2 separate regions of the Homo sapiens genome follow, and region 1 is linked to region 2. Evidence: promoter capture Hi-C in human tissues and cell types (Jung and others, 2019). All regions are on one chromosome and are shown on one strand. The core of a region is centred on a gene start or on the middle of the fragment in contact, and the rest is flanking DNA. Distances in the headings are between cores, read along the strand shown. Region 1 overlaps SLC44A1 (solute carrier family 44 member 1). Region 2 holds the start of SLC44A1 (solute carrier family 44 member 1).

The links. The method cuts DNA at HindIII sites, captures the fragments that hold promoters and counts their contacts. A contact is called where the count stands out against the background at its distance.
Region 1: a fragment that was not itself captured here is called in contact with the fragment with the promoter of SLC44A1 in region 2 in 3 of the 25 tissues and cell types used here (dorsolateral prefrontal cortex, hippocampus and mesenchymal stem cells).

The regions. Positions count from the first base shown.
Region 1 is chr9:105,364,093-105,369,346 of GRCh38, forward strand. SLC44A1 (solute carrier family 44 member 1) reads left to right here. Exons shown (of 16, transcript NM_080546.5): 10 at 463-628; 11 at 1,391-1,547; 12 at 2,254-2,337. Among named protein-coding and RNA genes, the nearest start is that of FSD1L, 81 kb to the right of the region's middle. The HindIII fragment of the contact is 5,581 bases long and covers 635-5,254 here.
Region 2 is chr9:105,241,280-105,246,401 of GRCh38, forward strand. SLC44A1 (solute carrier family 44 member 1) reads left to right here and starts at 3,372. Exons shown (of 16, transcript NM_080546.5): 1 at 3,372-3,625. The coding sequence starts at 3,590. LOC112268038 (a long non-coding RNA gene) reads right to left here and starts at 4,314. Exons shown (of 3, transcript XR_002956866.2): 1 at 3,740-4,314. RefSeq lists enhancers at 3,014-3,918, 3,919-4,822 and silencers at 3,145-3,744, 3,755-3,894, 4,235-4,314. The HindIII fragment of the contact is 14,998 bases long and covers 1-5,122 here.

The DNA.
Region 1 (5,254 bases), core at 2,175-4,674, 120 kb after region 2:
TAAATGGAACTAATTGTAAAGAGTATCATAAGGATAGTAAACTTTTATGTAACTATGTAACTTATCTGTCCATTCAGCACACACACTTAGCAACTGAATATAATAATAATTTCTGTACTTTGCTAAGAAATCTGTAATGATTGGATAAATAATAGGCCTTGAAAAAAACTGAAGTGTTTGAAAATTCATGCTTAAATAATTGATAATATAAGAAGAGTTTTATTAAATATAACAACTTTTAAAAGCTTTATATGATGCCTTTGAGGACATCAAAATGCATAATAGTACAATTCTTAATTTCACAACTTTTCAAGTGATAGTTATTTTTGTCCCTTTATGAAATACCACACAGATCAGAAGGTTTGTGGCTTGGGGTAGGGACCTATTGCCTTCTACTTAACTGCCGTATTTCTGGATTTGTACTTTATGTGCTTCTTCTTTCCTTCCTTGATATTTTCCTAGGCAGTCCTGTTCAGAATGAGCAAGGCTTTGTGGAGTTCAAAATTTCTGGGCCTCTGCAGTACATGTGGTGGTACCATGTGGTGGGCCTGATTTGGATCAGTGAATTTATTCTAGCATGTCAGCAGATGACAGTGGCAGGAGCTGTGGTAACATACTATTTTACTAGGTAAGAATATGTTGTTATTAGAAAACTCGAGTTCATCTAAGGGATGGTGTCCGCAGGCTGGAGGGGAAGGGAATCAGACTGGGGCTGGCAGGAGTTTCATTTCTTTAACAAAAGAATTAGAAATGAATATGACAGAGTGTTATATATAGTTGATAATTCTGGGAGGTGGTCAAATGAGAGATTGTTGTTTTATTCTTTATACTTTTCTGCAGTTGTCTCATAAAATTTATTGCGATGTCACAAATTGTATTTAGCAGAAGAATAAATCTTATAGTGGTGCCATATGTACTTTTGCTTTATATAAAAGTCCATCAAAGGACAACAAGTCTTTTTAGTTTGTTTAGACCGGAACAAGTGTGAGTTCCCTTTGCTAACTTTAGAGCCAAATATGAAAGCTTTAGGTCTCATAATTTTCTATTATAATTAGATGCCAAGTCTAAATTTAACATCTTTTTAAATTCTGTTTTCTGATGACCCCATAAGTATTCACTAATAAAAGCTTTCAGAGCACAGTTTTATTTAACTTGAAGTATTAGAGCATCAGAACCCCATGAAACTACCATAGAGCAATGACATTAATTTTATATAGCATGTCTGTAGCATTTGTAATAGTTATATATCACTTGGCCATTTTGTCATAAAGCTAAAATAAGAATGATGAGCTGATTTTTTTTTTCACTGCGTTGGACTCTAAACCATACCTGTGTTTCCATCCTGATCTAGGCTTTGTTTTAATTGTCTTTTTGGTCATTTTTTAAATAGGGATAAAAGGAATTTGCCATTTACACCTATTTTGGCATCAGTAAATCGCCTTATTCGTTACCACCTAGGTACGGTGGCAAAAGGATCTTTCATTATCACATTAGTCAAAATTCCGCGAATGATCCTTATGTATATTCACAGTCAGCTCAAAGGAAAGGTAAGGGGAAAATGCATTTCTGTACTTTCTGTGGGCACATTCCAGACCTCAGTTCTGCATGTAGTAAAGCACCCAATAATGTTAAATACAAAGTTGTGTTTTCTTCAAAGTCTTTACAAGGCAAAATCCAGCCCTTCTCCCTTGTCTCCCACTCATGCACTCCATATGCTCTGGCAAAATTCATCCAGTCACTAGTAACTAAAAGTATCCTGTGCTGCTCTTCCTCTCTGTTGACTCACATACCTTCCTCCTTAGAACTTCTTCCCTTCCTTGACTGTGGGAATAACATGCACTTCAACTAGTTTAGCTCAAATTCTACTCCTTTGTAGAAACCTTTCCTGATTCCTCCCATCTCCCAAACAATGCTGTCTCTTTGTTCTCCACTCTCATAACACTTAGTATCTATACTATATTCTGATTCTAACCTTTTTTGTGTTTGGTATTTTTTTTCTCCTACTAGATTGTAAGTTCCTTGCAGGTGTTATAAACTTCACTGTATATGCAGTAGAGACTAAATAAATATTTAATTGAACTTATTAAAAATAATTCAGTCATTATGTTTTAAGGAGAAAGTGGACAAGTATGGAGGCTTTGAAGCATAAATTGTGATTTTTAAATTTTTATTTATTTTTCTAACGTTTGAAGTCTTCTATGTGACAGTTTGATTCTTTGGTTTTTTTATTATTTCCATTTTTCCCCCATCCAGGAAAATGCTTGTGCACGATGTGTGCTGAAATCTTGCATTTGTTGCCTTTGGTGTCTTGAAAAGTGCCTAAATTATTTAAATCAGGTAAAATATTTTAAAAATAAATCTAATATTTACTTTCAAAGATAGGTTCATTGTTTCTTCTCCCAAGATAAACTTAATTGAAAGATGTTATGTTTTTCTTGTGGTATTGTACATTGTGCCTTGATAAAGTATGTCTATTTCAATCATATTCTTATTTTTTAAATTAATGTATATGCTTACCAAGGCTCATTATTATTTTAATTTTTTCCAACTTTTAGGTTTAGGGAGTACATGTACAGATTTGTTACATATGTTATTATTTTTATTTTAATAAATAGATAAAACATCACTCTGGTTCGTCTTTCAGGAAAAACATTTATCTCTCATCCCTTAATTCACATTCCTTCATTTTTTAAGTTTTTCCTAAGAATCTGACTACTGTGGCTATGATTACCCTTTCATTTTTAAAAATGTTGTTTGAAAACTTCAGTGTAAAGCTGTTGTGACACTTTATCCCTCTTTGCAACTAGCTACTATCATTCGAACTAGTGTGCTCTCTATGCTGATACTTTTTTTTTTTTTGACCCAACTGCTAAACACTATGATATTGGCCTGGGAAATATTATCAAAGGAAGTACTACTTAATAAGGTTGAATGGAAGAATTGATATTTATAGGATAAAAGGGCCTAGGTGAATGGGTTAGTCCTCTATCTTTCTATATCTGAGGATCTGGGAGTCTCTGTGGGGCACTCCTTCCTTCTTTTCTTTATTTTTTTAAGTTACTTTTCCATTCCCTAAAAATCAATTCTAATGTATTAATGCCCTCATCTAATAGGCCAGAGATAAAATTGACTTTCTCACCATTTACTGCTAAGTGATTGAAGAGTAGCATTGCACTTTCCATTCACTCCAAGATAGTCACAGGTTGATAGTTCTATGCCCATGGTATTGAGCATGCCTGGACTTTGCTTTATTGGGTTCTATGGTTAATATGAGAAAGTAGGTATGATGTTTCATTAGCAAAATACATTCTTATAGGTCATAATATTCCCTATGGATGTACAAGTGTTTGGAAGCTCATTCTTAAAATAATTTGTAAGGCCATAACAACCTGAAAAATTGTGTTCTTTAAAATTGGTTTGAGGCCAAGTCATCTTTATCAGAAAGGTAATGGATACACTAAAGATGATCATAATTGCATTTTTATACCCATCACTAAATAGCTTATCCTCGGAGAGATGTGCTAAGCCCAGATCTCTAGTCTCAATCCTACTGCCGTACCCCCAGGCACCTTTTGCTTTTGCAGTTTTCCAAATGTGCCTGGAATCTGACTAGTTCCTACTGAACCTTAATGATTCTGCCTGAGCGTCACCTCCAAGAAGCCATCCCTCTTCACCCCAGCCCCTCTGCTGAGCTTCTAACTCAGCAGAGTTAGAAGCTGAGGTCATACCTTAGTATTCAAATACTAACAACACTATATCGAAGTTATCTGTTAACTTTACCTTTAAACTTCTAGCTCCTTTAAAGTTCTTCTTTTTCTTGGTCTCCTCAGAAGCTAGCACAGTGCCCAGTATACAATAGGTGGTCCTTAAGTGTTTTCTGAATGAACTGTTAATTATATTAGTGAATATTTAGACTCAAAAAGACTAACAGGGTGATACAAAACTATAAAAATCCTGAAAAGGAGATGTGCAGTTATACTGAAGGAAGAAAACAAGTCATATGATATCAAGATAGTCGATAAAAGGTTAACAAATGGAAGGTTTTCAGCATATCCCAAGCTAAACATTAGTCAGTGATTTAGTACCAACAACCCTGAGATGTTGGTCTTTTTTTTTTTTTACAGATTTTGTCCATTTTGGATCAGCATTTCGTAGGCACGATGTTTGAAGTTTTAAGTGGAACATTAAAATAGTAGTAAATCAAACATGTGAGGAAAGGCTTAGGGAGAGGTGTTCTGAACTCATACTTTGTAGTTCTATTTGGGAATACAAAGTGCTACAATGTGGGGACTGATCACCTGCAGAGCTTCATGTCTCCTGGGCTCATAGGAAATGCCACACTTGAAATGTGGTCAACACAACTCTGTAAGGCTAGCATTATTTTCTCATCTGTTTCATAGATGAGAAAATTGAGACTGGCATCTTGTGGCAAATCACGAGACCTAAAGGTGGAAGAAGTTTTCAAATCATTTTGCCTTGCTCTTTCCAGTATATCACACTGCTGCCATTATATCACACTTATATACATATAAATATATATACATTTCTGAGTGGTGTAAGCAAACAAAAATATGGTTTATTATAGAAAATACGCACACATCTCAAATTGTAATGATTCATTCTGTAAACTACGACAATTATGTTTTTAAAGAAAATCTATTGAGGTCAGGCACGGTGGCTCACGCCTGTAATCCCAACACTTTTGGAGGCCGAGGCAGGTGGATCATTTGAGGTCAGGAGTTCGAGACCATCTTGGCCAACATGGTGAAACCCCATCTCTACTAAAAATACAAAAATTAGCCAGGTGTGCTGGCTCGTGCCTGTAGTCCCAGCTACTCCGGAGGCCGAGGCAGGAGAATCGCTTGAACCTGGGAGGTGGAGGTTGTAGTGAGCCGAGATTGAGCCATTGCATTCCAGCCTGGGCAACAGAGTGAGACTCTTTCAAGAAAAAAGAAAGAAAGCCTGTTGAAATTAAGATTTGCAACACACTTGTAATTTTTATGACCTTGAAAAAGTCTAAGAATTTAGAACAAAATTAGATAAAGCCTACAGTATGGGTTTGACTTTGTGCCCTGTCTTAATCTGTTCAGGCTTCTATAACAAAATACCATACACTAGGTGGCTTCTAAACAACAGAAATTTATTTTTCATAGTTATGTAGTTGATGAGAACTATTCCAATAGTTCTAGAGGCTGGGAAATCCAAGAACAAGGCACCAGCAAATTCAGTGGTTTGTGCGGGCCTGTTTCCTGGT
Region 2 (5,122 bases), core at 2,122-4,621:
TGCCAGTCTTGCTGAATACAATGTTGTCTTTTTCTGTTGCATGCCTGAGTTAGGGAAAGCTCTCTTCAGGTAAAGTGGATTTCTAACTTCTGGTTTAACTGGGAGGCTGAGATACATTTCTACCTTCTCAAATAGAGACTGCTCTTGCCTCTCTGGCAATGAATGAACAGTTACAGCCCTTGGTTACAATTAGTTTTGGCTTTTGGAGCATCTCCCTGGGGTGATATGTGAATGCTCAGGAGGAAGAGGTTGTGAGGCAAATCTGGAAGCTAGGGCTCTGCTGAAGCAAATAAGCTCTTGTGGGATGTGACTGTGAGCACAGTATGTGCTAAAATGTAAATAACACAGCCACAGCACCAAATGCCACGGTTTTTAAATTAAGAGGACTATTCTGAGCAGTTATAGACATATACATGTAGAGACGCATTTGTATTTCTGTTACCCCAAAACCTGAAATCATGTGAACAAGAAGTCAGGCTTCATAAAAATCATTGGAAAGACCATTAATTCAATGTTTTCCCTCAGTGAGTGACCAGCACCAAGACCTCCACCTGAAGCTGGAACCCTTGGAATTCACACAGCCAATTATGCAATACCAGACCACTGGGAAGCATTTCTGGCTGGCTCAGCTGGTGATCCGATTTTACCCTGCAGCACCAAGATTGATAGACCTTATAATTTTATCCTGGTTAGCGCAGATGGTTTTTACATAAGTTTCTAAAAACCTCCTTTCTCCCAAAAGAAAAAGAAAAACAACCTAAGCCCCTACGAAGGGGCTTGCCCTGGTAACATCTCACCATAGTAGATAAGTACCCTGATCACTGGCTTAAGAAAAAAAAAATCCCTTTTGTGATTTCTGAGTTTGCTGTGGTTTAATTTCATTGAATGCTGTGTGTACTTGTTTATAAGAGTGAAAAGGAATAGTAATTTGCCCCTCTCTAAATCACTCCTTTTACGAGGCTTTTTTTGGGCATGAGGGGGATGGGAAAGAGACTCATTCTTAGAAGGTACAGCATATCAATGCAAGAGCTGTTAGTTTCCCTCATGCTAATGACGAAGTATAATTTTGAAACATCAGATTCATATGCATATATGGTGCATACATACATAATTGGTGTATTTACAAAGCACCTTGCAGAATCTTAGAACTCTTAGTTCTATTAACACTTAAAGGGAAAACCAGAGTGCAGATCAGTCAAGCACAACGGACTGTAGTTGCTTTCAATTATATTCACCCATTATCTATGTCTAGGAAAGAGATCTCTAAAAAAGCAAAATACATTTTATGAAGCACTGCCACAGTCTGTTACGCATTTATCTCCTTCTACAGTTCCAATTACAGAATAAGCACTAGCTACTACACGGAACGGCAGCACTAGCCAAAAAGATTTTTCTAATCTGAGAGAAATGCTCCCATATTGACTCTGCAAAGAGAAACAACTCCCCTTTCCTTGACTATAAAGAAGGAAGACAGATGGCTTCTTGTTTAGGACTGTAGTTTTACTTTCAGCCTCCTCCCCGAGTTAAAAACAAGATGTACTTTTCTGGCTTTGAGGGAAAATCTCAAGGGAATGTTTTTTATTCTTGGCTGCACTGAATAATTCAACAAACATTTGAGAGAGCTGAGGGAGATACAAAGGAGAAAATACTTTTCCTTGTTCTCAGGGAGTTTACAATCTAATTCTGGAGTTTACAACCAGAATTGGGACTAGAACCATTAGTTTTATGTCTTCACTTGTATTTATTGGTTTAATGGTTATGGGAAACACATGTAGGATTCGCCAGCTCCGTGGTATGGTGGACCCTCTGATTAACCTGAAAGGAAACTAGAAAGAATGCAGAAGAATTCAAGATCTCAATCAGTTGAGTACTTGCTGACCTAGCAGCACTTTCTTATGTTATTTAATCTTGACCACAAGCCTTTGCAGTCATCCCTGCTACCAGCATTTCACAGAAGCGGACAATGAGATTTGGAGAGATAACTCGTCCACAGTCACGAACTCAGGAAATGGCATAGGAAAACATCAATTAGGAATTCTTCTTCCCTGGCCCTTTCTGTAGCTGTCCCCTTACAGGCTACCATTCCAACTTTCCTTGGCTTAGATTCCCTTTCAGTGCATGTAAAGTCAATTTAATTCTGTGTTCTTTTCTTCCCTCTATACTTTAACTAATCTTTAAAACTTGATGTCTCATATTTGGTGAATCAGTCCTTTTGGAAGTCTCACTCCCTTGCAGCTTTGCAAATAAAGTTTTTCTTTTCTTTCCTGTGGCTGTCTTTTGAGACATTCTTTGACAAGATGAAATGACATATGAAGGCTATAACAGTGCCTGATAATGTGGGGTTTTTTTTAACATCATTATCTTTAGTTTTATTTCTTTCACTTTTTAACTGTTTTCACCTCATACTGTATTTCCTAACGACTCGTTTGGAATTGTAAATTTCTTGAAGGTAGTTACCACGTCTACTCTAACTTGTTGCTACTTCCTTGAGTCTTACTGATTTAGCAACAGGAACTTGGTAAGTCTCTTTTGCTCGCCTCTTTATTCCCAGTACTAGTCACTGGAACGTAGTGTGTCTTCAGTAAGTATTTTTAATATGAATAAATTAATGTCCCCTTATTGTTTTTTGTAGACTATCCTGTATAAGAAAGTTTAGCTTAGATCCAGTATGGCTTTGACTTGCGAGCCTGGATAACTTTTTGCCTTTTCCTCATTTCTGGCTATTTATTACCATTTCAACCTTGGGAACATTTCATTAGGTTCTTGGTCCCTTTCAAGCCTCAGTTTCCACATCAGCAAAATGGGGACAGTAGCAACAGATGCTTGTTTCTTCCCGTCTTCTTATCACCTATTCCTTCTCCAGGAAAGGTTTCTTGTGTACGCTTTCCTCTGGAGAAAAAAAACAGCCGACGGGGCGGTAAGAAGCCATCAGGATCCTGAGTTGTGCGTCCAGTAGGGAGAGGGAGAAGTCCCGCTTGCCTCCTAGATCCGGAAGCAATCCGGCCCCTTTTTGGCAGCGAGTTGGCCCGGTCTTTGGCTGCCTCAGACCGCGTTGCCCTCCAGCCTCGAGGCAGAGAGCTGCCTCGGTGCCACAGCTAAATAAGCCCGGCGCCGCGCAGCCTCTGACACGCGCGGAAGGGCCCGGCCTTGTTCTGGCTGCCGCCGCCCTGCCACCAGCACGGCGCTGCACTGGGGGCGGGGAGTCTGATGGGAGACGCGCGCGGCGCTGAGGAGGCGGCGGCCCGGGAGAGGGAGCGGGAGAGGGACTGGGCGCGGGAGGCGGGAGGCGGGGGGACAGAGGGAGGCGCCGCCGCCGCCGCCGCCCGCCCCTTTCCGCTGGGGAGCAGCTGCTGCAGCAGGAGCAGAGCAGGAGACGCGTAGCCGCCGTCGCCGCCGCCGGGGGATGTGGCCGGCGCCTGCCTCTAGCCGCGCCGCCTCTTGAGTACCAGCCGCCGCTGCAGCCGCCGCCGCCGCCTAGCCGTGCGGTGCCAGGCCGCGCCCTCCCCGGGCGCCCGCCGGCTCGCATGCCGAGGGGCTCCGGGGCGTAGCTGCGCGCCCGGCGCCGCCTCCGGGCTCCTTCGGCCCCGCCATGGGCTGCTGCAGCTCCGCCTCCTCCGCCGCGCAGGTGAGGGGCTCCCGCCTCCCGGCCGCCCGCCCGGATGCCTCCCGTGCGCCGCGTCGCGCGGCGGGCGCCCGCCGCCCGATACCTCTCGCTGTCCCCAGCCTCCCCTGAGCGCACCGTGCAGTCCAAAGACCCCCACTCCGCCTTTCCGTCCGCCGGGTCCCGCCGATGCCCGTGCGCTGGCTCCGCGGCTGCCGACTCAAAGGCGCCTCTGCGCGGCGCCTAGTGCGCCCTCAGCTCTTCCCGGCCCCTTCCCCAGTCGGCCCCCTCCTCCCAGTCACACCTGAGCTGCCCGTCCCGCCCGCCTGCAGGTAGAGGCTGCACTGGCGCCTCCTCTGCCCCAGGTGGCATCCCCTTCCCTGTTCTTCCGGGCCTGGCTCCTCTCTTCCACCTCCGTGGAGTCTCCCCGCCATCCGCCGCCCGTTTTCTGTGCTCCTCGCAGGTGTACCCCCAGCAAGAGCTCTTCACCTCTCCCACCGAATTCCAGTTTCTGCTTCATTAGATATTCTGTCCCTTTTCTCTTGCCCGCTGCCCCCTGGCTGGGTTCAGATGGTTTCAGCGGGTCCCGGAGCCCTTCCACGGCCCGCTCCGCAGACCTCGCTTGCTCGCTTGCACCCCATCCCCCCTTAGTGCCGTGACCCGGGCCCCGCGGCCTCCCCGCACTCGGAGGCCCCTGCGGGAGCGCCGACTCTGGGCTGGGAAGGAGATTGGGCACCTGGTGGGTGACGGGAGCGCTACGGAAACTCCCTCTTTGTTGCCAGTGTAACAGGAGGAAGAGGTTCCGAATTTAGTTTTTCTGTGGGCACTGGCTGAATGTTGTCGCTGAGGGCTGAGATGCAGAGATTTCTCTCAGCTTCTACCCTGCCCCCATCCAAATTTCGCCAACCTCCTTCTCTCGGATCCGAGCCCTTAACCTGGGTGGAAATGTTTAGACAACTGTACGAGGATCAAATGTAATAGAACTCGACTACTGGCCACTAATAACTGAGAGGACCTGTTTGTAAATTACCTAATTTAGTGGATTAGCGAGTGTATTTACAAATACTATAAAAAGCAATCAGGAATACTGCATCAAACTGTCTTGTGGTGGTGTATGAAAAATAGGCTCTGACAACGCCTGGGATGTAATCTCACAGTTTCATTAGCGTAGTTTCATTAACTGTGGTCTGTGATTTGTTTGTTTTAGGGGGCAGAAAAGGGCTCTTGTTTTTAGAAATAAAGGATGGTTGGTTCTTGGTGAAGAAAAACGCTAGTTTGGGGGGAAAAAATTCCTCCAGAAAGCTAGCATCTGTGATAATGCCAGAAGTGTTTTTGCTGCTGCTAAATGACTATATATAACTCAGTTTTAAATAACCTGCATACTTGTTCTGAAAATCTGAGATCTGTTAGAGAGAAAATGACTAGAATTGCAGATGAATGGGGGACATTTGTGTTTTATTAGGTATCCATCCTATCATCCTATTCCTCCAGTCTTTTTTTTTTTTTTTTGAGTGTTTGCTT